Regions from separate parts of the Homo sapiens genome. Here regions 1, 2, 3, 4 and 5 are each linked to region 6. Evidence: promoter capture Hi-C in 16 types of primary human blood cells and fetal thymus (Javierre and others, 2016). All regions are on one chromosome and are shown on one strand. Each heading gives the region's core, a stretch centred on a gene start or on the middle of the fragment in contact. The rest is flanking DNA. Distances are from core to core; before and after follow the strand shown. Region 1 overlaps SPAST (spastin). Region 2 overlaps BIRC6 (baculoviral IAP repeat containing 6). Region 3 overlaps BIRC6 (baculoviral IAP repeat containing 6). Region 4 overlaps BIRC6 (baculoviral IAP repeat containing 6). Region 5 overlaps BIRC6 (baculoviral IAP repeat containing 6). Region 6 holds the start of NLRC4 (NLR family CARD domain containing 4).

What was found. The method cuts DNA at HindIII sites, captures the fragments that hold promoters and counts their contacts. A CHiCAGO score of 5 or more calls a contact.
Region 1: a contact is called between a fragment that was not itself captured here and the fragment with the promoter of NLRC4 in region 6, in 1 of 17 cell types (neutrophils). The highest score is 5.3, in neutrophils.
Region 2: a contact is called between a fragment that was not itself captured here and the fragment with the promoter of NLRC4 in region 6, in 1 of 17 cell types (M2 macrophages). The highest score is 9.0, in M2 macrophages.
Region 3: a contact is called between a fragment that was not itself captured here and the fragment with the promoter of NLRC4 in region 6, in 1 of 17 cell types (monocytes). The highest score is 6.3, in monocytes.
Region 4: a fragment that was not itself captured here is called in contact with the fragment with the promoter of NLRC4 in region 6 in 3 of 17 cell types (neutrophils, monocytes and M2 macrophages); the score reaches 6.1 in neutrophils.
Region 5: a fragment that was not itself captured here is called in contact with the fragment with the promoter of NLRC4 in region 6 in 1 of 17 cell types (monocytes); the score reaches 6.8 in monocytes.

What each region holds. Positions count from the first base shown.
Region 1 is chr2:32,122,749-32,126,926 of GRCh38, reverse strand. The region is part of intron 7 of SPAST (spastin); the gene reads right to left. Among named protein-coding and RNA genes, the nearest start is that of SLC30A6-DT, 41 kb to the left of the region's middle. The HindIII fragment of the contact is 6,892 bases long and covers 1-4,178 here.
Region 2 is chr2:32,400,832-32,404,959 of GRCh38, reverse strand. It overlaps BIRC6 (baculoviral IAP repeat containing 6), which reads right to left. Exons shown (of 74, transcript NM_016252.4): 7 at 3,575-3,797; 8 at 3,337-3,497. Among named protein-coding and RNA genes, the nearest start is that of BIRC6, 46 kb to the right of the region's middle. The HindIII fragment of the contact is 682 bases long and covers 1,619-2,300 here.
Region 3 is chr2:32,466,888-32,471,606 of GRCh38, reverse strand. It overlaps BIRC6 (baculoviral IAP repeat containing 6), which reads right to left. Exons shown (of 74, transcript NM_016252.4): 27 at 3,868-4,082; 28 at 3,496-3,704; 29 at 2,824-3,170; 30 at 1,993-2,212; 31 at 1,306-1,439; 32 at 483-593. Among named protein-coding and RNA genes, the nearest start is that of MIR558, 63 kb to the left of the region's middle. The HindIII fragment of the contact is 196 bases long and covers 1,183-1,378 here.
Region 4 is chr2:32,445,903-32,450,537 of GRCh38, reverse strand. It overlaps BIRC6 (baculoviral IAP repeat containing 6), which reads right to left. Exons shown (of 74, transcript NM_016252.4): 22 at 1,610-1,743. Among named protein-coding and RNA genes, the nearest start is that of MIR558, 84 kb to the left of the region's middle. RefSeq lists an enhancer at 2,696-3,273. The HindIII fragment of the contact is 4,466 bases long and covers 1,153-4,635 here.
Region 5 is chr2:32,488,605-32,492,883 of GRCh38, reverse strand. It overlaps BIRC6 (baculoviral IAP repeat containing 6), which reads right to left. Exons shown (of 74, transcript NM_016252.4): 42 at 4,170-4,279; 43 at 2,733-2,843; 44 at 1,326-1,459. Among named protein-coding and RNA genes, the nearest start is that of MIR558, 41 kb to the left of the region's middle. The HindIII fragment of the contact is 3,975 bases long and covers 154-4,128 here.
Region 6 is chr2:32,262,227-32,266,478 of GRCh38, reverse strand. NLRC4 (NLR family CARD domain containing 4) reads left to right here and starts at 1,593. Exons shown (of 9, transcript NM_001199138.2): 1 at 1,593-1,741. The HindIII fragment of the contact is 10,627 bases long and covers 1-1,820 here.

The sequences.
Region 1 (4,178 bases), core at 1-2,500, 140 kb after region 6:
TTACAACTATGATTCTAGAGACATTTTAAGTACTCTTTGCCATCTAAAAAGCATCCTTTTTTCAGTAGCATCTTCCCAAACAGAGCTGCCCATAGCTTTAAAGGAAACACATAATCATAAATTAATGTAATAATTAAAAACAGCTGGGTGTGGTGGCTCACACCTGTAATCCCAGACTTTAGGGGGCAAAGACAGGAGGATTACATGAGCCCAAGAGTTCAAGACCAGCTTGGGCAACATAGGGGAACTCTGCTTCTACAAAAAATTAAAAAAAAAAAAAATTAGCTGGGTGTGCTGGATCACCTGAGCTCCCAGCTATTCAGGAGGCTGAGGTGGGAGGATCACTTGAGCTTGGGAGGCCAAGGGTGCAGTGAGCTTTGATTGTGCCACTGTACTCCAGCCTGGCTGACAAAGTGAGACCCTGTCTCAAAAAAAAAAAAAAAAAAAAAAAAAAAAAGAAATAAAACCAACTCCTCGGTGGTAAAAATGAAAGCAGACTGCTTAAACAAGACATATTGAACATAGGCATGTTTCTCTACTTAGAAATCCCACCAAAAAATACTAAATGAATAAAAAATATATGAATCTTCCAAACAAAAATAGAAAAGGAGATTAACACAATGAATTCCACAAAATGGAGAACTGATAAAGTGTGGTAAATCACTTAGCAGAGCTTAAAACCTAAATGCCTACTTGTGAAGGGATACCTAAATGCAAGAAGCACGCTGACGTGAACAAAAATCCCAGGAAGGTTCAGGAATTGGATGTTATCAGGCACCACAGAAAGCAGTAGTAAGGCAGGCAGTCAAAAACAGAGGAACTGGCCGGGCACGGTGGCTTACAGTGGCTCACGCCTGTAATCCCAGCACTTTGGGAGGCCAAGGCGGGCGGATCACGAGGTCAGGAGATCGAGACCATCCTGGCTAACACGATGAAACCCCGTCTCTACTAAAAATACAAAAAAATTAGCCGGGCGTGGTGGCGGGTGCCTGTCGTCCCAGCTACTCAGGAGGCTGAGGCAGGAAAATGGCGTGAACCCGGGAGGCGGAGCGTGTATTGAGCCAAGATTGCGCCACTGCACTCCAACCCGGGCGACAGAGCAAAACTCCGTCTCAAAAACAAACAAACAAACAAACACAGGAACTGATTGAAAGTTGGTATGAGGAACTCCCCACCAAAGGCAGTCAAGCAGGTACCAATCACCACCAAAGCAGAAGGCAGGAGTTTCGTTCTCTAAAGAAATAAGTCAGAGTCTCCAGATTCAGGGACACTAGGCATGGCAGGAATCAAGGGTAGAGCTCCAGACTGAAAACATCTCACCTACACTTTAATAACAGTGAAGGTGTATGTACTTTTAAGTTGAATCATATGAAATGGCTAATATCCAACTTAAAAAAAAAAACCTGCTGGGCGCAGTGGCTCACGCCTATAATCACAGCACTTTGGGAGGCCGAGGCGGGCAGATCCCCTGAGATCAGGAGTTCAAGACCAGCCTGACCAACATGGAGAAACCCTGTCTCTACTAAAACTGCAAAATTAGCTGGGCGTGGTGGCACATGCCTGTAATCTCAGCTACTCGGGAGGTTGAGGCATGAGAATCGCTTGAACCCTGGAGGCGGAGGTTTCAGTGAGCCGAGATCGTGCCATTGTATTCCAGCCTGGGCAACAAGAGTGAAACTCCATCTCAAAAAATTAAAAATTAAAAAAAAATAAAAATAAAAATAAACTTTTTTTTTAGTGATTTTAGGTTTACAGAAAATTGAGCAGAAAGTACAGAGTTCCCATATAACCTCTCATTCCTTTCCAATTTCCCCTACTCTGAATATCTTGTATTAGTGTAGTACACTTGTTAGAACTAATGAAAAAATATTCATATATTATTATTAACTGAAGTCCATATTTTACATTAGGGTTCACTCTTATGTTTTATATTCTGTGGGTTTTGACAAAGGTATAATGACATGTATCCACCATTGGATTATCATAAAGAACAGTTTCACTGCCTTAAAAATCCACTGTGCTCCACCTATTCATCTCTCCCTGTCTCCCTTGGCAACCACTGATCTATTTACTGTTTCCATAGTTTTGCCTTTTCCAAAACATCATATAGTCAGAATCCTATAGTGTAGCCTCTTCAGACTGGCTTCTTTCATTTAGCAATATGCATTTATGGTTCCTCCATATATTTTTGTGGCTTGATAGATCATTTCTTTTTATTGCTGAATAATACTCCATTACATGATATACCAAAGTCTGTTTATCCATTCCCCTACTTATGGATGCCTTGACTGCTTCCAAGTTTTGGCAACTATGAATAATGCTGCTAGAAATATTCATGTGCAGTTTTTTTTATTGGATGTACATTTTAAACTTATTTGGGTAAATACTAAGGAGTAAGACTGCTGGACCATATGGTAAGAGTTTTGTAAGAAACTGTCAAACTGTCTTTAGTTCTGTAAAAAACTGTCCAACTACCTTCCAAAATGGTTCTACCATTTTAGATTTCCATCAGCAATGAATTAAAGTTTCTGCTGCTCCACATCCCTGCCAGAATTTGGTGTTGTCAGTGTTTTAGATTTCAGCCATTCTAATAGGGATGGCAGGGTATCTTGTTGTTGTTTTAATGCGCAATTTCCCTAACGACATGATGTTGAGCATATATTCATATGCTTGTTGTCATCTATCTATCTTCCTTGGTGAGGTGTCTGTTCAGATATTTTGCCCATTTATTAACTGGGTTGTATATTTTCTTATTGTTGAGTTTTAAAAGTTCTTTGTATATTTTGGATACTGGTCCTTCATCAGATAATGAATTTTGTAAAGTCTCCCACTCTGCTGCATGTCTTTTCATTCTCCTAACAGCATCTTACACAGAGCAGAAGTTTATAATTTAAACAAAGTTCAACATACTGATTTTTTTTTTCAAGGATCATGTTTTGGTATTGTACCTAAGAAGTCACTGCCAAACCAAAAATTTTTCTCATGTTATCCTAGATTTTCTCCTATGTTATCCTCTAGAAGTTTCAGTTCGCATGTTACATTTAGGTCTATGATCCATTTATTTTTGTGAAAGTTGTCAGGTCTGTGTCTAGATTAACTTTTTTGCATGTGGATGTCCAGTTGTCCTATACCATTTGTTGAAAAGGCTATCTTTTCTCCACTGAATTGTCTTTGTCCCTTTGCCAAAGATCAGTTGACTTTATCTGTGTGGGTTGATTTCTAGGCTCTCTGTCCAATTCTACTGATTTATTTGTCTATTCTTTTGCCAATGACATGCTGTCTTGATTAATGTAGCTTTACAGTAAGTCTTGAAATTGGGTAGTTTCAGTCCTCTGACTTTTTTCTTCTTCAATACTGTGTTGGCTGTTCTAGGTCTTTTGCCTTTTCATATAAACTTTAGTTTGCCAGTATCCACAAAATAACTGGCTGGGGTTTGACTGGGACTGCACTGAATCGATATATGAACTTGGGAAGAACTGACATCTCAATAATATTTAGTCTCCCTGTCCATTTACATGGAATATCTCTCAGTTTACTTAGATCTTTGATTTCTTTCATGAGTGCTATAATTCTTCTCATATAGATCTTCTACAACAAACTTTGTTAGAACTACACATATTTCATTTTATTAGTGTTAATATGAAAGGTATTGTGTTTTTTTTTTTGAGACGGAGTCTTGCTCTGTCCCCCAGGCTGGAGTGCAATGGCGCGATCTTGGCTCACTGCAACCTCTGCCTCCTGGGTTCAAGCGATTCTCCTGCCTCAGCCTCCTGAGTAGCTGAGATTACAGGCACCCGCCACCATGCCCAGCTAATTTTTGTATTTTTAGTAGAGATGGGGTTTCACCATATTGGTCAGGCTGGTCTTGAACCCCTGACATCAGGTGATCTGCCCACCTCGGCCTCCCAAAGTGCTGGGATTACAGGTGTGAGCCACTGCACCCAGCAGTATTGTGTTTTAATTTCAAATTCCAGTTGTTCACTGCTGGTAGATAAAAAAGCAATTGACTTTGTATATTAACTTTGTATTCTACACCTTGTCATAATCACTTATTAGTTCTAGGAGCTCTTTTTGTTGGTTCTTTGGGATTTTCTACATATGCAATCATGTTATCTGCAAACAAAGATATTCATCTATTTTTTTTTTTTAAATATAGATGGGGTTTCACTACATTGCCC
Region 2 (4,128 bases), core at 710-3,209, 140 kb before region 6:
ACAGGCACAGTGACTCACACCTGTAATCCCAGCACTTTGGGAGGACAAGGAGGGAGGACTGCTTGAGCCCAGGAATTCGAGACCAGCCTGGGCAACACAGTGAGACCCCATCTCCACAAAAAAATAAAAAATTAGCTGGGCATGGTGGTACATGCCTTTAGTCCCAGCTACTTAGAAGGCTGAGGTAGAAGGATGACTTGAGCCCAGGAGGTAAAGGGTGCAGTGAGCCGTGAGCCCGGGTGACAGAGCAAGACCTTGTTTCAAGAGAAAAAAAAAAATTATATATATATATTTGTAAAATCACATTCTTTTAAAATATTTTGTGACAAAAACATTTTATGGCTAAGGCCAGATGCAGTGGCTCACACCTATAATCCCAGCACTTTTGGAGGCTGAAGCAGGCACATCACGTGAGGCCCGGAGTTTGAGACCAGCCTGGCCAACATGGTGAAACCCGTCTCTACTAAAAATACAAAATTTACCCAGGCATGGTGGCACGGGTCAGTCCCAGCTACTCAGGAGACTGAGGCACAAGAATCACTTGAACCTGGGAGGCAGAGATTGCAGTGAACCAGGATCGCACCACTGCACTCCAGCATGGGCGACAGAGCAAGACTCTCTCAAAAAAAAAGAAAAAAAATTATATGAATAAAATAACTAAATTGTACACTTACATGAATTGTATGGTTTGAAAATTACACTTCAATAAAACTTTTTAAAAAATCACATGCGGCTGGGCGTGGTGCTCACGCCTGTAATCCCAGCACTCTGGGAGGCCAAGGCAGGTGGATCATCTGAGGTCCGGAGTTCGAGAACAGCCTGGCCAACATGGAGAAACCCTTTCTCTACTAAAAATACAAAAAATTAGCCAGGAGGGGTCGTGGGCACCTGTAGTCCCAGCTACTCAAGGAGGCTAAGGCAGAAAAATCATTTGAACCTGGGAGGCAGAGGTTGCTGTGAGCCAAGATTGCGCCACTGCACTCTAACCTGGGCGACAGGGTGAGACTCTGTCTCCAAAAAAAAAAAAAAAACACACACACATTTTAAAAAGAAACTAGAATACATATAAATGTTACCATAATCCCATAGTGTGATTATGACTACTCTATATTTCATCAATTTCCACTCCTGCATTTTCCCATTTTCCTGCAATAAGCATGCACTATTTATATAATAGGCACTGTATTTACTAAAGCCTTCTACATTTTGCAAAACCTTTTACAAAGCAATAAACATGCAAAATAAATATTATGGTTAAAGTAAAAATGTTTAGTTAAGATTATATGTGTTTCTGAAAAACAGACATACTAATATTGTAACAGTACCTTGGTTTACAGCAATCCCATAAACAATTTCATTTACATTCAAGGAATTTTTACCAACTTGACCTGATATACAAATGACAAGTGAATCATCTAGAAGAAATCTTAATTCATTAAAATTAAATGTATTAGCATATCTTCTTCCTTAATTCAGAAGACAAATATAGTCTTCTAAGAAAAAATTGTCAAAAACAATTCCTTAGTCCTTCAATGTAAATAAGAAATAAAAACAAATTTTACAAAAACTATTCTAAGCAAACTATATTGCTAATTACTTTAAACTTCTTGGATAAGCTTAGATTTTTCCAATTAATGTATTATTCTTCAAGCTAATGAAACCCACATAGTATATTTTATAACCAAACATATTGGATCTTGTGTCACATAAAGTGAGAGGTAGTGTGGCTCATTATATTCACTATCAATTCCAACAGGACTGCTCCTACTTCTTGGGGAGGGGAAGTGAAGAGAGGGGGCTTAAGGTTAGGGATGAAGTTTCACCTCTTCAGCTTCCTCCTACCACATCAACTTAATGTTTTTGTATGATTTGTTTGAGACTTTCTTCAGAGAAAATTGACCTTCGACCCTAGATTGTGAATTTCTTAAAAGCAAGTAGAGATTACCTCAACTCAAGCACATTACCCCATATAATGTTGAGAAGTATTTCCACTAATAATACAGAATACATGTTTATCTAAAATGCAGATTTTACCTAGGAGGGTGTGACTATATGTGTATGGGTGTATGTAATCCTAGAAGTATATTTTGATTCCATTTTTAATCCCCAAATTACAAAACTTCAAGACAAAGTTCAAATTAAAGTAAGTGCCTAGAAGGACATATAAATTTCATTATCTTCTATTACTTTTCCACTAACTTCTAAGAAATCACAGAAATTAAGCATGCTTAATATCTAGTCCTATTGGCAAAATATGGTCAGAAACTCAGACAACAGTTAAGCTGCTTTCCCATTAAGCTTTCACAGAGATTTATATTAATAGAACAACCACAAGGCTTTAATCAACATGTTATTACCAAGAGGAACTAGACAGAAGTAACACATATATTGTAAATTTTCCACTAATTCCATTAATGAAATAATTTCCATTAATAAAACTTTACATTATTCCTTAATGAAAGGACATCCCACCAAAGGGGTTGTGAAGTAAAATGATAAATCACTGACTACAGAGTAACACCCATCACATGTCAGTAACATAAGGAGCCCCTGGAAGTGAAATGGCAGATATTCTCAGTCTATCAAGACATCTGATCACAGTTAAATAGCTCCATTTCACATGGCTGCCTACACAATCTTCTTCCCCTCCACCTACAGAATCTTACTAGCCCAGTTCAGTCAAAACCACAGTGGTTCTTAGGAAACAAGTGGGTGAAAGAGGGTGATACTTTGACTCTCCCACCCCACCACAAAAATCAGGAATCTCTCAGAGAAGTTGAGTGAAGGAGAATCCAGAACAGCAATTTTACCAAAATATTTCTATAGCAATAATTATGGTATCTCAACTCACTGCTGACTACTGGTACACTGTTTTAAACAATTAGATCCTCTTGCCTCACCTCAGGTCATCCCATTATTATTATTCATTAGCACTGCCATAATTTGAGGTGCTAATGAAAAAACGGAAACTGAAATCATCTAGTTCGAATGCTCTATGAAAAGATTTAGCAGAAGGTGAAACTACAATAGAATTTCATTTCATTATTTAGACTTTCCAATGTTGACTTTTCATCATCTATTGTTCAATGTGGCAATTATTTCCAATTGACATAGATTGTGATAGAAAGTTAAGCATATTTTATAAACTACGGTGTTTCTGAATGAAGATTTTTCTTCAAGAATCACAGATTTCAGATTTCTAACCAAACATTTACTCTCTGATCTCTTAACTGCGTAACTTTTTTTTCCTCCTCTTTAATTATTAGAACTATGAGAATATAAAATTTAGGAAAACATGTAACATCTATTAAATACTACTAAAACAAACTCACATACCTATCTCCTTCCAATTTTGGTATATCTGAGCAACTAGAGGAGTCCTCCAGCCACGCCAAAGTTGGTCTCCTTGAATCAACTCCTGAGCTTGGGTCTCCTGATAGAATAAGCTGTTGTACAATTGCTGGATCATAGGCATTAATTTCAAACTTTAAGTGCACCTAAACAAATGAAAAGCCTAAGTTTACAACTGATCTTTTTTCAATTACTAATTTGTTACTTCAAAATTCAAACATACCTTCATAAGTTTGGAAACATCCCATATGCAGATCTTTCCTCGTTTAGTTGCAGCAGCTAGAAAATGAGGGCAGCTCCCCGACCCAAAGCAAGATATTCTGTCAGTTCCATCCGTACAAGGAAACTGTGCAGGACTTGTTGCAAGAGTGACTGACAATGGCACATTCTGTGTGTGCTCACCTTTCACAAATGGGCAGTTTGGGGAATGTCTTTCGTGTTCAGACCTTTGCATAGATTTAGAAAGGAAAAGTTTACTAAAAATAAAGCAATTCAGTTTGTACATTAAAACAGAACTCCAGGATCATCATCTTTTTTTAACTGAACTTAAAGTATTCATCATTAAAGACTTAATATAACCAAATCATTCAGTTTTATGAAGATCACTCTAACATGTTCAACCGTTTACAAATTCACACATTCAATATTCCAAACATTCAACAATAGCAGTTGTTACTCACTTTAACTGATTATAAAGTCAATCTCAGAAAAAACTGAAAAACCAATACAATGCTATATTACATACTACAAAATTGTTTAAACTCCTGTTATTTCCTC
Region 3 (4,719 bases), core at 31-2,530, 210 kb before region 6:
TAAATTTTTCTGTGCTTTGAACCTATAAAGAAAGCTTACAACTCAAAATCTGAGAATTTCTGTATTTAAAAATACAGGCCATTTGTAGTTAATTAGTAGATACCAATAATGCTAAATGAAATGACACATCATACTAAGAAAAAATAAAAACTCTGATTTCCCTTTCATAACTCACTTACATGCATGCTATTATAAAGTCTTTAAACAAGCCTGAGGGAAGACACCTTGCAAAAGTCATAGCTGCATTTAGAAACTAAAAGTCATGTCCAGACAAAGGAGCTTGTCTATAAAGTCCACCAAGTATAAATGTTATCTTTAAACAGAATTGTAGTGAAGTTCATTTGTATTTTCCTTAAATTACATACAGCTGGTAGCTCCAGGCCAATAGCCAGTTCTGGAACAACTGCGAAGTCACTCAAAATCCCCACCAACATATTATTATAAACTTCTGATACCTGTCAGAAACCTCTCCCTGTCTTTACCATTCAAAGGTTTCTTTGCAGCTGCTGCTTCATCTTCAACAGTTGCCACATAATCCAGCAACCTGGACACCAGCATAACAACCCAACTGATCATGGGAATATCTAGTACTCCTGGAGAGAGATGACAGCAAAGGAAAAACATCCAGATGACTTTAGGATTCCTAATTAGATCTGATAATATAAGTGAAACAAAACATTCTATAAATCCAAAACATATCTTATCATTACTAACACTAATATTTATATGTAATAAGTCTAAAAAATAGACACCAACAGCCAGAAACTGAGTAGAACATCAAATCTAATGAAAGACAAAGACTTCAAGGTATAAGAACAGATTAAGTGCAGGCTGAATCCAAAATGGACTATATAAACTAGAAAGCAAGGTATAAGATACTATTCTTAGATTCACAGGAACTGAAATAAAACATCTAACTCTCAACTTATAATTCATATAGCACTAAACTAGGTTCTAATGTTTTTATTCCTATAAAAAAGTGTGTTCAAACAAAACTCATTATTGTTGATGGGAACAACAACTGTGCCTTACAGCTCAAACTTATGTAAGGGAGTTTGACTTTAGTTATAATAGTACAGGAAAAACATACTATACTAAGTTCAAATAATGAAAAGGAATAAATTTTAAAAGTATTAACTATATGGCAGTCAATCACATGAGGGTTGCTCATTCTTAAAAGCTTACATCATAAAAATATTAAATGTGCTGCAAATAATTATTAAAGTATTTCAGAGAAGATATTTTATAAAAGAAATATTTGCAGGAATATTGTTTTTACTAAAGAACACTGCTTTCTCTTAATACCTTCTGTCCTCCTATGCATGGGTAACTGTGGCTGAAGAGGTGACAATAAATTATCCAAGAGATTAAGTAAGCTTTCTAATACTCCACTATTACTAAGTGATCTTTGACCAATGCAGGAAAGTAACATGAAGACCCTAAAAACAAAACAAACAAAAAAGAAAAGAATAAGAATCAATTCGATTGTTCAATTTTTAAAATAATTTACATAGAAATTTAACAGAGTAATGATAGAATATTTGCTTTCTTAAAACATACCATATTTCAGACTGGGAAAGCAAGATTTGTATCTGGAGGTATGAAGCTAAAATTAGTTTTTTTTCTAACTACTGGTTACATTTTCTAATGTTATTAACAAGAAATCAAGCACTTAGTGAATGAGAGAATTTTATTAGCCACAAACAAACACATTTAGCATATAAAGCAACATAATCTAATAGAAATACTTATAAACACAGATCTATGAAGTCCACAAGTTCAATTAGAAAACTAAAGAGTAGACTCTAATTATCACTTATTATCTTCTTCGATACACAGTGCTGGTGCCCTTCACTGGTCATTTCACAAACTCTGAGATCTGCTTCATATTCACAACTTAGTATCCACATTTCAAAGATTTCAAAAGCTAACCAGTAACTGTGAAAAGTACACATCATTAATAACAAATACCTCCAACATTTTCTGACCTACCTATCCTGTGGAAAGATGAGAAGCTGTTCCGAATTGTACAATTCCTGAAGGACATTAGAAAGAAATTGACCCCACCACCTTTCACCACCACACAGTTGAACAAGAAGAAGACCAGTATGTAACCGTATCTTTGGGGTTCCACTGATGCACAAGTGTTTAAAGAGCTCTTCACAGGCCTGGGCATGAAATGTGCTCTGCAAAACTGCAGGAACAGAGTGTCCTATTACAAGAAAGAAAACAGTAAACTTTCCTATTTAAATGTATTGTATAATATTAAAATACGCATGCCTAAATACACTTTCCTCTTTTCTAGTAATCAGTAGATAATTATATTCTATTTATTCTGCAATGTATTTACTCCTTGTATGTAGAAATCTGTTACATACTTGGAGACGAAAATATTTAGCACTTAAGTAAATTACATTTCTTGCCTATGGAGCTGGATGTGTCAGATGGCTGTGTCAGTGAATGTGTGAGCTCGTGTAATGATCAAAAATACCTCCTGGCTAGAAAATGATAGCTCTATATTAGGTTAGCAATTTATGAAAAGTTTCACTGTTCAACTTCAATGCAATACTTAATACTTTGCCAGTAGCACAATGATGTGCATGTCAATACCAGAAACCCAAAAAAAACACACACAACTTCATTTAAGAAATGTTTAAAATAACAGGGAGAAATAGATTAACCTAAAGAGACATTTCATAAATACTGACATTTTTTAAAATACCAAAATTTACAATAGAAAATATTGACACAGATCCTAAAACATGCAGCGAAATCACATCAAGTATATTCCCAGCCTTTAAAATATGTAAGCCAAATACAAACCATTAGAAGCATGAAGCAGGCTGAGCAAAGTGTCCAGTAAATATCTGATGATAGTACGTAACTGCTCTGTGGAAGATGTCTGAATTAAATCTTCTGGATTTGATGTTTCACTCAACATCTTCCGGCTTGCACCTAGCGCCACTTTGAGCCTCTGCACTGCATTATGAGCCAAATTTAGTTGAAGCTGTAGCTGAATACAATCTTGATAAGCAGAAAAAACCCTACTGTCTTCCTCAACTGCCTTATCTGGTTTTCGTAAAAAGTACTGTGCATTGTTAGCACTGTTTAGAGGAGGAAGATCAATACTTTGCAAAAGGGTTTCCAGACGATGACAAGCCAAGTTATACCTAAAGTAAAAAAAGATTGAACAAAATAATTCTTGTAATGTCCTCTTTATGTACATGTACAAATACTAAGAATTAAATCTCTTAAACCTGTTAACATACAACCATTAAAAAGAATTACCCACTTGATAGGTACTAATAAATGGAGCCCATTAATTAATCACAATATTTTCACGCATTAAGTGTTATTGTAACGTGCTAATCTCCTACTTCCTCTTGCTCTCTTATCTGTACACCTATGAAAAGACATTTCTTGACAGAATTATAAGCAAGACATTATATAAAATACAAAGTTTCAATAACATTAAAATTTGCACTCTGTACTAACCTGCACTGTATATCCTCCTGCAAAGCAACCATCATTGCTAAATGCTGGTCAATTTCTGGCTGGTTTGCAGATTCTCCCTCTCCCTTTAGAGGATCATGCATTAACTTCAGTTCACTTTCCCAAGGCAAGATGTAGGTATGACCATAGTAAAATCCTAATGGGATTTTGGCTCTGGCATTTGTACTCCCGTAACGTCCAATAACAGTGATCTGAAATGAAAAATTATAAATATACATATATACACATCTGCCACAATAAAAATCTGAGCAATGTATTTAAAAAGATAGTTATATTTTTTAATTATATATTCATTTTTCATAACTTGTCAGAAACATAGAAAGCGTATCAATTTACTTTCTTAAAGTTCTTTACCTTCATGAATCTGCACACGGGAGGTGGTATTAAGTCATGAAGAATTAGTGAATGAGTGCTTATATCAGTTGCCACTACCAACCGCCTTCCATCCACCTCTTCTCCTAATGTCCAAATGTCAATTGACAAAGAGGCCAAGTCTCCACAAGTGGGAATCAATACATCAGTCAACAATATAGGCCTCCCAAAATCCAAGGTCACAAATCTTCTTGCTCCTATGAGAGAAAGAAGAAACAGTTGACCAAAAATATATCAATTAACCAAATGATACACTCAAAAATAATTTGGAGCACTCATCTTAAAATATGAAAGCAACTCACTAAACTATAAATAAGAGGAAAAGTAAATATGTAAAAATGGCCTTGTCAATTGATTCAAAAATTTTCTGAAATCCCAGTCTGTGTTAGTTTTGAACCCCAAGACGTAAGTAGAAAATTAAGAGTAGCTGGGCACAGTGGCAAGTGCCTCTAGTCCCAGCTACTGGGGGACCTGAGACAGGAGAATTGCTTGAGCCGAGGAGCTCCAGGCTGCAATACACTAGACTGCTACTGCACCTGTGAATAGCCACTATACTCCACACTGGGCAATACAGCGAAACCCCTCTTTTTTTTTTTTTTTTTTGAGACGGAGTCTCGATCTGTCGCCCAGGCTGGAGTGCAGTGGCGCGATCTCTGCTCACTGCAAGCTCCGCCTCCTGGGTTCACGCCTTTCTCCTGCCTCAGCATCCCAAGTAGCTGGCACTACAGGCGCCCGCTGCCATGCCCGGCTAATTTTTTGTAGTTTTAGTAGAGACAGGGTTTCACCAAGCTAGCCAGGATGGTCTTAATCTCCTGACCTCGTGATCCACCCGCC
Region 4 (4,635 bases), core at 2,136-4,635, 180 kb before region 6:
ATGCTGTAGAGAGACTAATAATGAGGAACAACACAATGAGACATTAAAGTGGAGACATATCATGATTTTTTTTTTTGAGGCGGAGTCTCACTCTTTCGCCCGGGCTGGAGTGCAGTGACGCTATCTCAGCTCACTGCAAGCTCTGCCTCCCGGGTTCACGCCATTCTCCTGCCTCAGCCTACAGGTGCCCATCACCGCATTTGGCTAATTTTTTGGCATTTTTAGTAGAGACGGGGTTTCACCGTGTTAGCCAGGATGGTCTCGATCTCCTGACCTCGTGATCTGCCCACCTCAGCCTCCCAAAGTGCTGGGATTACAGGCGTGAGCCACCGTGCCCGGCCGACATATCATGATTTCTAAATTCCTTGTTCTGAGTCTTCTTTACTCATTTGCAAACTTGATGACCTCAGAGCTTGGAATGAACCTTACAGTCCTTCCCTTACGCTTTCACCCTAACAGATTTCACTGCTTCTTTTGGTATACTGAAGGCATTGGTATCTCCAGTTCTAGTCTCTCCTACTAGTTCCAATCATAAATTACAATGGTCTAATTGATGCATCACTTGGATAGAGAAGACAGAAAATGGTGAGATGCGTGTAAGGCAATCAAGAGCCTAAGTCATCAAATAGTAATAACACATATATTCAAGGCAGCATAAGCAATTAAAAAGCAAGTGACAGACCAGTATGTGTAGTATGCTCTTTCATTAGAAACTATATTAACGAATACAGGTTGCAAACAAGTTTAAATAGCTAAACATCCAGTTAACAATAGTAACCTAAGAGGGTGGAAAGGTTGGGGTTGAGGCATTTTACATTTCATTTATATTTTTGTATTTGATCTTTTTAATTTTGCTTTTATTACACCTCATAAGTTACTTTTCAACAAAATTGAACTTCTCTCTCAAAATTTACTTATATCTGGTTATTACCTTAATCTGTTTGCAAATTTTCTAACATTTTTGTATCCTAACAACATCTGCAATAAGTACAATTAGACGGAAGAAAAAAATGAAATGGTCACTCTTTTATCTAACAAAAATAAACAGCAAATTTTAGCACTTAAAAAGATTATAAAAATAGTGTCATGCATACATCCGAAAAACACATTCTTTAGAAAGTATAAAAGGATATACGTAATGTATACAAAGCTTACCTCAAGAAAGTGACAGATGCAGAAAATTATCTTTTGTTTGTGCATCCTTATTACAGTAAGTATATATTACTAATTTTGTATTTTTGAAATAGGAAATCTTTTTTAACTTTATAGAGGCAGCAAAGATACATCAAATAAAACTGAAAAGGCTACAACAAATACATTTTAAATAGTCTCATAAGCATTAAAATCACACTGAAATGAAATGCATAACAAAAACAAAAAATTAAAGTCACAACCCTTTCAAATATGACTTTAATATACTGGGATTTTCTTCAGAGGGAAAGAGGAAGTTAAGAACTTCTAGGAAACATTTTAATAATTCATATGATAAGTTCTAAGGAATTTTAGTTTTCTAAAGACAAAACATCATGACTATAATCTATTAAGTCAAATGGCAACTTAAATCCAAGATACAACATTCAGAATTTCCTTTAATAAAAGAAATCACTACCTGAAAGGACATCTGATAAATCAATTTCATCTGACTGGACACCAATGCTGCTGTTATAAACATTTTTACAAGAAGAGCCACTCATCTCCAAATCAAAGAGGACTGGATCAAATGGTGAGCTATATAATCCATATCTGAAAAATAAAATAATGCACTAACAATTTTCCTTTCAGCCATCTAATTAACAAATTACCTTTACTTAGTTTTAAAAGCAGTCTGACTAACAGCGCAGAGGGCTCTCCCTCTCCCCTCTCCCCTCTCCCCTCTCCCCTCTCCACGGTCCCCTTCCACGGTCTCCCTCTGATGCCGAGCCGAAGCTGGACTGTACTGCTGCGATCTCGGCTCACTGCAACCTCCCTGCCTGATTCTCCTGCCTCAGCCTGCCGAGTGCCTGCCATTGCAGGCGCGCGTCGCCACGCCTGACTGGTTTTCGGTTTTTTTTGGTGGAGACGGGGTTTTGCTGTGTTGGCCGGGCTGGTCTCCAGCTCCTAACCGCGAGTGATCCGCCAGCCTCGGCCTCCCGAGGTGCCGGGATTGCAGACGGAGTCTCGTTCACTCAGTGCTCAATGGTGCCAAGGCTGGAGTGCAGTGGCGTGATCTCGGCTCGCTACAACCACCTCCCAGCCGCCTGCCTTGGCCTCCCAAAGAGCCGAGATTGCAGCCTCTGCCCGGCCGCCACCCCGTCTGGGAAGTGAGGAGCGTCTCTGCCTGGCCGCCCATCGTCTGGGATATGAGGAGCCCCTCTGCCTGGCTGCCCAGTCTGGAAAGTGAGGAGCGTTTTTGCCCGGCCGCCATCCCATCTAGGAAGCGAGGAGCGCCTATTCCCCGCCGCCATCCCATTTAGGAAGTGAGGAGCGTCTTTGCCCGGCCGCCCATCGTCTGAGAGGTGGGGAGCACCTCTGCCCCGCCGCCCTGTCTGGGATGTGAGGAGCGCCTCTGCCCGGCCGCCCCGTCTGAGAAGTGAGGAAACCCTCTGCCTGGCAACCGCCCCGTCTGAGAAGTGAGGAGCCCCTCCGTCCAGCAGCCACCCCGTCTGGGAAGTGAGGAGCGTCTCCGCCCGGCAGCGACCCCGTCCGGGAGGGAGGTGGGGGGATAGGGGGGCCCGCCCGGCGAGCGGCCCCGTCCGGGAGGTGAGGGGCTCCTATGCCCGGCCGCCCCTACTGGGAAGTGAAGAGCCCCTCTGCCCGGCCAGTCGCCCCGACCAGGAGGGAGGTGGGGGGGGTCAGCCCCCCGCCCGGCCAGCCGCCCAGTCCGGGAGGGGGGAGGGGGGGTCAGCCCCCTGCCCGGCCAGCCGCGCCGTCCGGGAGGGAGGTGGGGGGATCAGCCCCCCGCCTGGCCAGCCGCCCCGTCCGGGAGGTGAGGGGCGCCTCTGCCCGGCCGCCCCTACTGGGAAGTGAGGACCCCTCTGCCCGGCCAGCCGCCCCGTCCGGGAGGGAGGTGGGGGGATCAGCCCCCCGCCCGGCCAGCCGCCCAGTCCGGGAGGGAGGTGGGGGGTCAGCCCCCCGCCCGGCCAGCCGCCCCGTCCGGGAGGGAGGTGGGGGGATCAGCCCCCCGCCCGGCCAGCCGCCCCATCCGGGAGGTGAGGGGCGCTTCTGCCCGGCCGCCCCTACTGGGAAGTGAGGAGCCCCTCTGCCCGGCCACGACCCCGTCTGGGAGGTGTGCCCAGCGGCTCATTGGGGATGGGCCATGATGACAATGGCGGTTTTGTGGAATAGAAAGGCGGGAAGGGTGGGGAAAAAATTGAGAAATCGGATGGTTGCCGGGTCTGTGTGGATAGAGGTAGACATGGGAGACTTTTCATTTTGTTCTGTACTAAGAAAAATTCTCCTGCCTTGGGATCCTGTTGATCTGTGACCTTATCCCCAACCCTGTGCTCTCTGAAACATGTGCTGTGTCCACTCAGGGTTAAATGGATTAAGGGCGGTGCAAGATGTGCTTTGTTAAACAGATGCTTGAAGGCAGCATGCTCGTTAAGAGTCATCACCACTCCCTAATCTTAAGTACCCAGGGACACAAACACTGCGGAAGGCCGCAGGGTCCTCTGCCTAGGAAAACCAGAGACCTTTGTTCACTTGTTTATCTGCTGACCTTCCCTCCACTATTGTCCTATGACCCTGCCAAATCCCCTTCTGCGAGAAACACCCAAGAATGATCAATAAAAAAAAAAAAAAAAAAAAAAAAAAAAAAAAACAGCGCAGAGGGAGATGCTGACTAGATTTGACCCATCAAATTCAGTGAATCTCAACTATGTTCCCTGCAATCTATACTCTAAAAGACACTGTCCAGAGACTCAACAAATGTGATTCCAATAAGCTGGCAACTAAGGTACTAAGACTGCCACCTGCAGATTGAAGCGAGGGGTATCAGGCACCATTCTCTCCCGTGAATCATTACGACATAGCCTCAAGTACAAAGGCTTTGAGTAAAATGTCATCAAAATCAGAACATCTAACCTAGGAAATTATAAAATCACTGCTCTAAATAAAGGAACGCCTTACTTCAAACGTAGACAATCAGGCAAGAACTTAAATCTAACCTTTTGCTATTGCTTAATTCATCACGTTAGAAGTTTTGAAATACAAGTAGCAGGTAGAAGAATACTAGTTATGGGACAATAAGTGACTCACATAATTCCACCTATAAAGTGCACAGAGAAACAGACACATTACATTCTTCTTCCATTAGCAGGGCATACCACTTTTCATTATTAAATAAAATTAGCCCTCTGAATAACCATCATAAGGATTTATCAAACTGTTAAAGAGTAATTTCTGGCCGGGCACGGTGGCTCATGCCTGTAATCCCAGCACTTTGGGAGGCTGAGGCGGGCGGATCAACTGAGGTTGGGAGTTTGCGAACAGCCTGACCAACATGAAGAAACCCCGTCTCTACTAAACATACAAAATTAGCCAGGCCTGTGGTGCATGCCTGTAATCCCAGCTACTCGGGAGGCTGAGGCAGGAGAATCGCTTGAACCCGGGAGATGGAGGTTGTGGTGAGCTGAGATCACACCATTGCACTCCAGC
Region 5 (4,279 bases), core at 892-3,391, 230 kb before region 6:
AAAACCTTGGAGTAGTTCTGGAAAAATAAAATACAATATAATCCTCCAAACTATTTTAGAGTTAAATAAAGTTAATTTCTGATACTGAGCATACAAATTATAGCTTTCGTATCAGAACTTCCTATATAAAACCAAGGTATCAGTAGGAAAGCTTGATCTTCAGTAACTTAAAAAGTTTTAAAAAGTTATTTCCTCCTTTCTTTTATTCAAAAACAGAAAGAAAATATTATTTTTTGCAATGCCTTGTTCACTGATACCTAGCTATACAGATAACTAGTTATGTAATTTGGGGCAATATAGCTGATGCATGTTTTCTTACATGTAAAACAATTAAGTCAGAATTGGTGATCCCGAGGAGTCTTCCTGTTTGAAATTCAATCAATCTTTAAGTACAATAATCACTTGATAACATGTCTCTGCCCCTACCAAAACCCTGTCCCAATCTAACTGTAAGTTAGTTTCTTCTCTCTTACTTGTTCCTTGTCTCATTTATTTTATTAAGATCTGTAAAATTAAAATATATTAAGTATTAGAGTATTAACTAAAGCTCTATGAAGGCAGATATTTGATCTTGGTAAATACTGTATGTCTAGTACCTAGAACAAGCACACAGAAGCCTCCTAAACACTGAATAAGTGAATTAATAGAGAAACTGGGCTGTTGAGGACAACTAAATTAGAATTTATCTGACGGCAAATCCAAGAAGTTTAAAATGATAAACTTGCAAGATAATCTTGAATAATCTTGATTTTAAAAGATGTTATAAATGCTAAATATATTTTTACTTTAAAAGAAATATAATGAAGTACAAATATTTACACAGAAGCAGTACAACATAACAAGAAATTAAATTGATATAAAGGAAAATTTACAGTGAAACAGAAAATGTTTATAAGTCCTGAGCAATATTGTTATCTTTTGCTAAGCAAAATCATTAACATCATAAAATGATTAAGGTGAATTGATAATCTTGATAGTAGAAGTAATCAAATATGACATATTAAAATTTATTGATTCCAAAATTTTTGAAATGCTTCTCTACCTTTGCAGTATTTACTCAGAATGTTTCCAATTATCCAAAATTAATGCCAAAAATATGTATCTATATGAAAACCTAGTATCACTGTTCTAAGAGGTTAACTTACCACCTGCTATTATTTAGTGTCAGTATAGCTATTATTACAAATAACAAAACCTTTTTTATTATATTGATACATAAAAGGCTATTATTTAATACTTTAGCAATAAAAAAGTTACATAGCTTTACATTACGAATACTGTTTATTGAATAGTCTGGGCATATGCCAGGCTAAACATCATATTACCTGTGGACTGTGTTGATTTGTTCCATGTGGACTGGTGCCAGAAAGAAATTTCACTAATACATGAATTAGGTTTGGATCTGAAACCAACAAATGAGCAGTACTCTCCTGAGTTCCAATGGCACTGCTGGAACCAGCTATAAAACATTTTTTAAAAACCTCTTAAGAAATGGACCATGAAATAATGGAAATGCAGTATCTGAAAGCATCTTTTAGTTCCAAGGAAAATTCATACATTCCTAGTAATTACAGTTTATTAAAGGGGTTTCAGTTTCTACTATATTGACTAAGCAGGACTTCCCTCTCTATCTACCATCTATCTCTTCTGCCCCCTTCTGATTCTGAAAACACCTCGAGCTTAATGTACATCTTATTTAGTACAGTCAAACAGAAAAGATATAACTAGGTCCTGACTCTTATTTGGAAAGCCTATTCTAACTAACTCCCCCTTCCAGAAACAGTCAGAGATCTACTTTTCAGGTAAACTTTAATCAAGTTTTCTAAAATAAGTTGTAGCAAAATTATTCCTTTTTGCATGTTAGTTGTATACAGGTTAACTGTGAACTAACGTACAGGTAACACAACAGTTTTCTGAGATGAATAAAATATCCTTTGCATGAAATCCACCTTCAGTATCACAGTGATGCTTTTGATCTCATTTTTGGAAAATACATTCCAAATGAAAAAAGATAATAGCATTTTAAAGCTAAGCAATGATTTAAATTATTAAACAAAACCCAGGAATCTAGTTATGCATGTTTATGAATATAATAATGAATAAATCATTTTTAAGTACAAAGGTATCTTAAAAGAATAACATAAAAACTTAGATGAAATGTAAAAACCTGCCTTTGTACTCTAAAAGCAATCAATTTTCTTTTAATCAGTTTTTAAAAGGTAAAAAATATGATTTGAACATCCAACGAGACATATGAGACTATATTATCAAAGTAAACAAGCACAAAGGATATATAAGAACTAATTCAGAAGAGACATGTTAGAAGAAAAAACTCAGTCACTTTTATTGGAGACAGAGTCTCACTCTGTCACCTAGGCTGGTGTGCAGTGGCGTGATCTAAGCTCACTGCAAACTTCGCCTTCCAGGTTCAAGTGATTTTCGTGCGTCACCCTCCCAAGTAGCTGGGACTACAGGCGCCCACTAACTTTTGTATTTTTAGTAGAGATAAGGTTTCACCATGTTGGCCAGGCTGCTCTCGAGCTCCTGACCTCAAGTGATCCACCCGTGCTGGCCTCCCAAAGTGCTGGGTTTACAGGCGTGAGCCACCACATCTGGCCAACTCAACCACTTTGACAAGTATACCACTCCTTGGAAAACTCTGTTTTAAGAATCCAATAGTAGAACACTAAAGTATATGTCAGAGATTTAAATGAATAAATTTATGAACTTACAATTAAGCTGCATGTTTGTCATGAGTGTTAGGCTATGAAGCACAAGGCACCATGTCCGGAGCAAAGTATTGGGATACCAAGCTAACACTGTGAGAAAGCTAGTTATTGATGCTATGCAGAAAAGAGAAAGGGAAAATATTTTTCAGAAAAACAATGTTTATGAAGAACTAAGTCAAAAGAATAAATTTAAAAACAAGACACTATTTCTTTAAATCCGCTCCTTAACCAGTGTCTTCAAAACATGCAAATAAAAGGAATTCTCCATTAAATACAACTAACGCATTAAGAATCAGTAACATTTTAGGATAAGGTTTAAAGCTCAGCCCACAACACCTGAAATGACATGTTATCACTCTCAGTATGTTGTACTTTCCAAACCATAGGCATTTCTACTTCAATACAATTTACTAAAAATCCTCACACTCTACAAAACTGGCAACTGAAAACAGTAACAGATACTGGAAAAACTGGTATTATAGGCATGCGTCAACACAGCCGGCTAATTTTTGTATTTTTTTCACCATGTTGGCCAGGCTGGTCTAAAATTCCTGCCCTCAAGGGATCTGCCCACCTCGGCCTCTCAAAGTGCTGGTTTTACAGGTGTGAGCCACTGTGCCCAGCCAGGAATAACTATTTTTTACTCTTTTATTTTTTATATATATTTAATATTTCTCATAATAAAATTAAAAACAGATGAAAACAAATTTTATTATAATAATAATATAGTTGAAGAGATGGAAACCTATAAATTAAAGAAGGGCTGGCTGGTGCTGAGACAGTGCAGATGTAAGTAGAATCTGTGCGTGACTCAGTGGAGCTGGCACTCACATTGGAAAATACACCATGTAAGACCCAAGCAAGCTACAGGATGCCTCACTATAGAGAGAAAGCATCAGGAACAGATTCTCATTTTTATTTTTCTTTAAATATAACTAAAATAGATTCCTGTAGCTAGAGCTGAACGCTAATTCTTTTCCTGTTGTATTATTTTACTACCACCATTCCCATACTCATATTTTGCCAAGAAACACACACAACTTCCACAGGAAACTGACCACCTTCTCCAGCTGACTAACTCCTCCAGGGGCTAACTCATAGTTTTAAAAAATGAAAAAAAAAAATAATAAAAAACTGACCTGCTTTTACAGATCAGACAAAACTTCAAGAAAATATAAAGGAGTAACAGAACATTGTAAATTTTAGTTGCATACAGGCATACCACAGACCAGAGAGTAGGAGTCTTCTATTCTCAACAAGGTCTCCCTGTATCTTTCCTGCTAATCGGTAAGTTAGTGCATCTTTTTAAAAAGGTATTCTGTTTTTTCCCCACTAGAATGTTATAACCCCTAATGACAAAGATTAGGTATATTTTAACCTAATAATTACGTTTTAAGCTTGCTATTTAGACTATAATGTTTTTCTCCTAATAAATCTTACCTTGATTTAATGAAATAACAGGTATCCTATTAGCATTATATAAAAATATGTCTGCTCCATTTTCTTTGTTTCCAGTTGAACTAGAATTCAGGCTCAGTGTGAGCCACAAT
Region 6 (4,252 bases), core at 344-2,843:
ACTAAAAATACAAAAAATTAGCCATGGTGGTGGCCCACACCTGAAATCCCAGCTACTTGAGAGGCTGAGGCACAAGAATTGCTTGAGCCTGGGAGGCAGAGGTTGCAGTGAGCCAAGATTGAGCCACTGCACTCCACTCCAGCCTGGGCAACAGAACGAGACTCTGTCTCAAATAAATAAATAAATAAATAAATAAACAAATAAAATAAAAAATAAATAAGTTGATAAATAAAATTAGAATATACAGATAAGCCAAAGACAGAAATTTAAAATTGCTTATAATTGTATTCCCCAGCAATAAGCATCATTACTATTTTGGTGGCTGTCTTTGCAGTTTTTTCTCTTGAACATATGTTTATATATAGGTTTCATTACAATTTAAAAATCTAGCTGATAGTGTAGCCCTCAATCTCACTTCAGAGAAACCCACCTCACAAGTTGGGAAACACTGACACTGATGCCCCCTTAGAAAACCCAGGATGTAGACATTTATTTGCCGGGAAACTTTGGTATCCCTCTATGGCAGATAGGCTACTGTCAGAATGCTCTTTTTGAAATAAGAAGTTATGTAACACAAAGACATGTTCCTGGTAGTTTATGCAAAGACAGAGGAAAGAGTATGCAAGAATGTCATCCTCAAGGGAAGTGCAGAGAGATTTCTTCAGTCCTCAGCTGAGTATAAGCTGGCCTCCTGGAGTCTGTGAACACAAACGTCCAATGTGAGTGTGCCTGTGCAAGCCCCTGGCTGTTTATACTCCGGAGGGTGTCCCCGTGCGTCATCGGTGGAGTGGACCAAAACTGGTGATCTGTTTGCCCTGTGTGACCTTGCCCAGAACCCTGCTGACTGAGAGAACACATCTGCTGGAAGTCCTCTGGGATTCAAGGTACAGGGGTAAGCATGACCTTGAATGCAGTAGCAATGTGCTTTAGCCAACTAAGCTGGCTCATTTCATTTACCGCTCTATCTCCCATGGTTAAGCATTAAAAATACATGTTGTGGCTGGGCATGGTGGCTCACGCCTGTAATCCCAGCACTTTGGGAGGCTGAGGCTGGCAGATTGCCTGAGGTCAGGAGTTCGAGACCAGCCTGGCCAACATGGTGAAATTCTGTCTCTACTAAAAATACAAAAATTAGCCGGGCATGGTGGTGCACGCCTGTAGTCTTAGCTACTGGGAGGACTGAGGCGGGAGGAACGCTTGAACCCGGGAGGCAGAGGTTGCAGTGAGCTGAGATTGTGCCACTGCCCTCCAGCTTGGGTGACAGAACAAGACTCTGTCTCAAAAAAAAGAAAAAAGAAAGAAAAAGAAAAAAAATATATGTTGGATGTTCAGAAGACTTTGTTTCATTTTAAGGTATAGAATAAGTAACTCAACAGCAATGAATTCATATGTTGTGAACAAACAGGAAACAAATGAGTAATTCCTTTCTTGACGGAATTTCTAGCTCTTGCATCTTTTACTCTGAAGTTCTACTTCTTCCCCGGCTACTCCTGCCTACACCCATCTTCCCTTTCTGAACTGGTAGTACTTGTGTCCAAACCACTCTTACTGTGCTTTGAAAAAAAAAAAAGGAACTGCTCAGCAGTTCCCCTCTCTGTACACTGTCCTCTCACAGAACAAGAAGGTATCTGGTCTACAAGAACTCGAGGCCTCACTGAAACGGAAAGCAAATACAAAGAAACTTTATTTTAAAAACATGTCTTGGTCTCCCAAGAAGAGGGCAATTGGATTGCTCAGCCAGGTACTGTGGGTAGAGAGAATGGGATTTTTAAGGTCTGGGGCCCAAATATTAAAATCTGGGTTTACATTCATTTAAAGCTTGTGTCTGGGATGTACAAAAGCCTTAACATTGACGAGTGTGATTTGCATGCCTGGCTGGATTTGCCTGCCGAGAAACCTTTAGGGGTGGTTAATCGGGTCTGCTGGGGCTTCATCAGGTTCAAGGGGTACATGTACCCCTTGGACTACTGTGAGATGGAAAGGACTTTGGAAACACTTTTTGGCATTACAGAAAGGAAACTCACTCTTTTTTTTTTTTTTTTTTTGAGACAGAGTCTTGCTCTGTCACCCAGGCTGGACTGCAGTGGCGTGATCTCGGCTCACTGCAACCTCTGCCTCCTGGGTTCAAGCAATTCTCCTGCCTCAGCCTCCCAAGTAGCTGGGATTACAGGCACCCGGCACCGCGCCCCAGCTAATTTTTGTATTTTTAGTAGAGACAGGGTTTCACCATGTTGGCCAGACTGGTCTCAACTCCTGACCTCGTGATCTGCCCACCTCAGCCTCCCAAAGTGCTGGGATTACAGGTGTGAGCCAACGTGCCCGGCCAGGAAACTCACTCTTGTTGCTAAGACTGTTGTTAGAATCACAGATGATCAAAGCTGAAAGGAACGAGGTGGACTACTTAGTCCATCCAATCTCCCAAGTTACTGATGAGAAACCTGATATTTGGAGACAGAAGTGAAGGAAATCACCCTTTACGGGACACCTATTTCGTGATAGGGTCTTTATGTACATTATCTCAGTAGATCCTTGCAGCCTGGCTTTGAGAGGTGGAAAATGTGGTAGAGAGGAGTTAAATGTCCTGCCCTACATCACACTGCTAATTGTCTACAAAACTAGGATAGAACCTGGTCAGCACACTTCTTAACTGTTCACACACTTTTATAATATTAGTCGTATTAATGTGTTTAAAATACCATAGACTGGGTGGCTTAAACAACAGAAATTTATATTCCCACAGTTCTGGAGGCTGCAAGTCCAAGACCAAGGTGTCAGCAGGGTTGGCTTCTCCCCACGCCTCCCTCCTTGGCCTTTTCTCTCTGTATGCACATTCCTGGTATCTCCCTTTGTGTGTCCCGATTTCCTCTTCTCATAACAGCCTCATTTGAGCTTAATGACCTCTTTAAAGGCTCTGTCTGCAAATACAGTCACATTCTGAGGTTCAGGGCTTCAACATATGGATTTGGGGGAAGCCCAGTTCAGCACATAACACTAATATTAACATGTGAGATTGCTGAAGCCTATTAAAGACCTAAGAACATTCTAGTCTAGAGCCTTTTTACTAGAAAGGAAGACAGATAATACCCACTGACCATCTTTGTCACAACTACTTTCATGTTTAATCTTCACAATAGTCCAGGGAGGTGAATATTATGCATGATTTGGAAAGCAAGATTCGGAAAGGCTAAGTAACATGTCTAGGGATACTTACCTCATAAGGTGCAGAGTGAGGATTTGAATTCAGATCTGCAATGCCAAAGCCCACACACATTTTCCATTTCTGTGTGCTTCCTGTCTGCTCCTAATTATATGTACTCTTTCCCTTATTTTATCTGTGAGGTGTGGGAATGACCCCATAGACGTGGGTTATATGGGTCCAGAGAAACTTCAGTTCTCTGAGGAGCTCATGTAACCTTTTTTAAGAAAATGCCAATTTTAGAATTAGTACTAAATATTATTTTCCAGCTGGGCATGGTGGCTTATGCCTGTAATCCCAGCACTTTGGGAGGCCGAGGCAGGCAGATTGCCTATATATATATAATATATATTATTATATTATTTTCCAATGTACAAATGTGGGGGAAGGACTTCTTCCACCCAATTCAGTTATTCACTGGACAGCTTGCGGGGAGGGGTTGCAGGGCCATAGCTACATTCCAAGAGAGTACACTGGTCTCAGTCCTATTCTTTTTTTTTTTTGTCTGAGACAGAGTCTCTCTCTGTCACCCAGGCTGGAGTGCAATGGTGCTATCTTGGCTCACTGAAACCTCCACCTCCTGGGTTCAAGAAACTCTCCTGTCCCAGCTTCCCAAGTAGCTGGGATTACAGGTGTGCACCTCCACGCCTGGCTAATTTCTTGTACTTTTAGCAGAGATGGGGTTTCACCATGTTGGCCAGGCTGGTCTCAAACTCCTGACTTCAGGTGATCCACCCTCCTCAGTCTCCCCAAGCACTGGGATTACAAGCGTGAACCACCACGCCTGGTCCACAGCCCTATTCTTTATGCCAGTGGGTAACTGAGAAAAATTACATGATCTTCAGTATATGGATTGATTTTGTTCTTGAGAGCAATTAAAAACTTTATACATCTTAGCTCCTTCCTCTATCTTCTTCCTCTTTTTCTACTCTGACTTAAACTTTGACCCAGTCAGGGATGGTGTGATTCTTCCCAAACCCACCCCTTTTTGGGGAAGTAGAAAGGGAGAGAAGAATCTACAGTTGCCGCCATTCACTGAGTCCTTCCTGTGTGCCA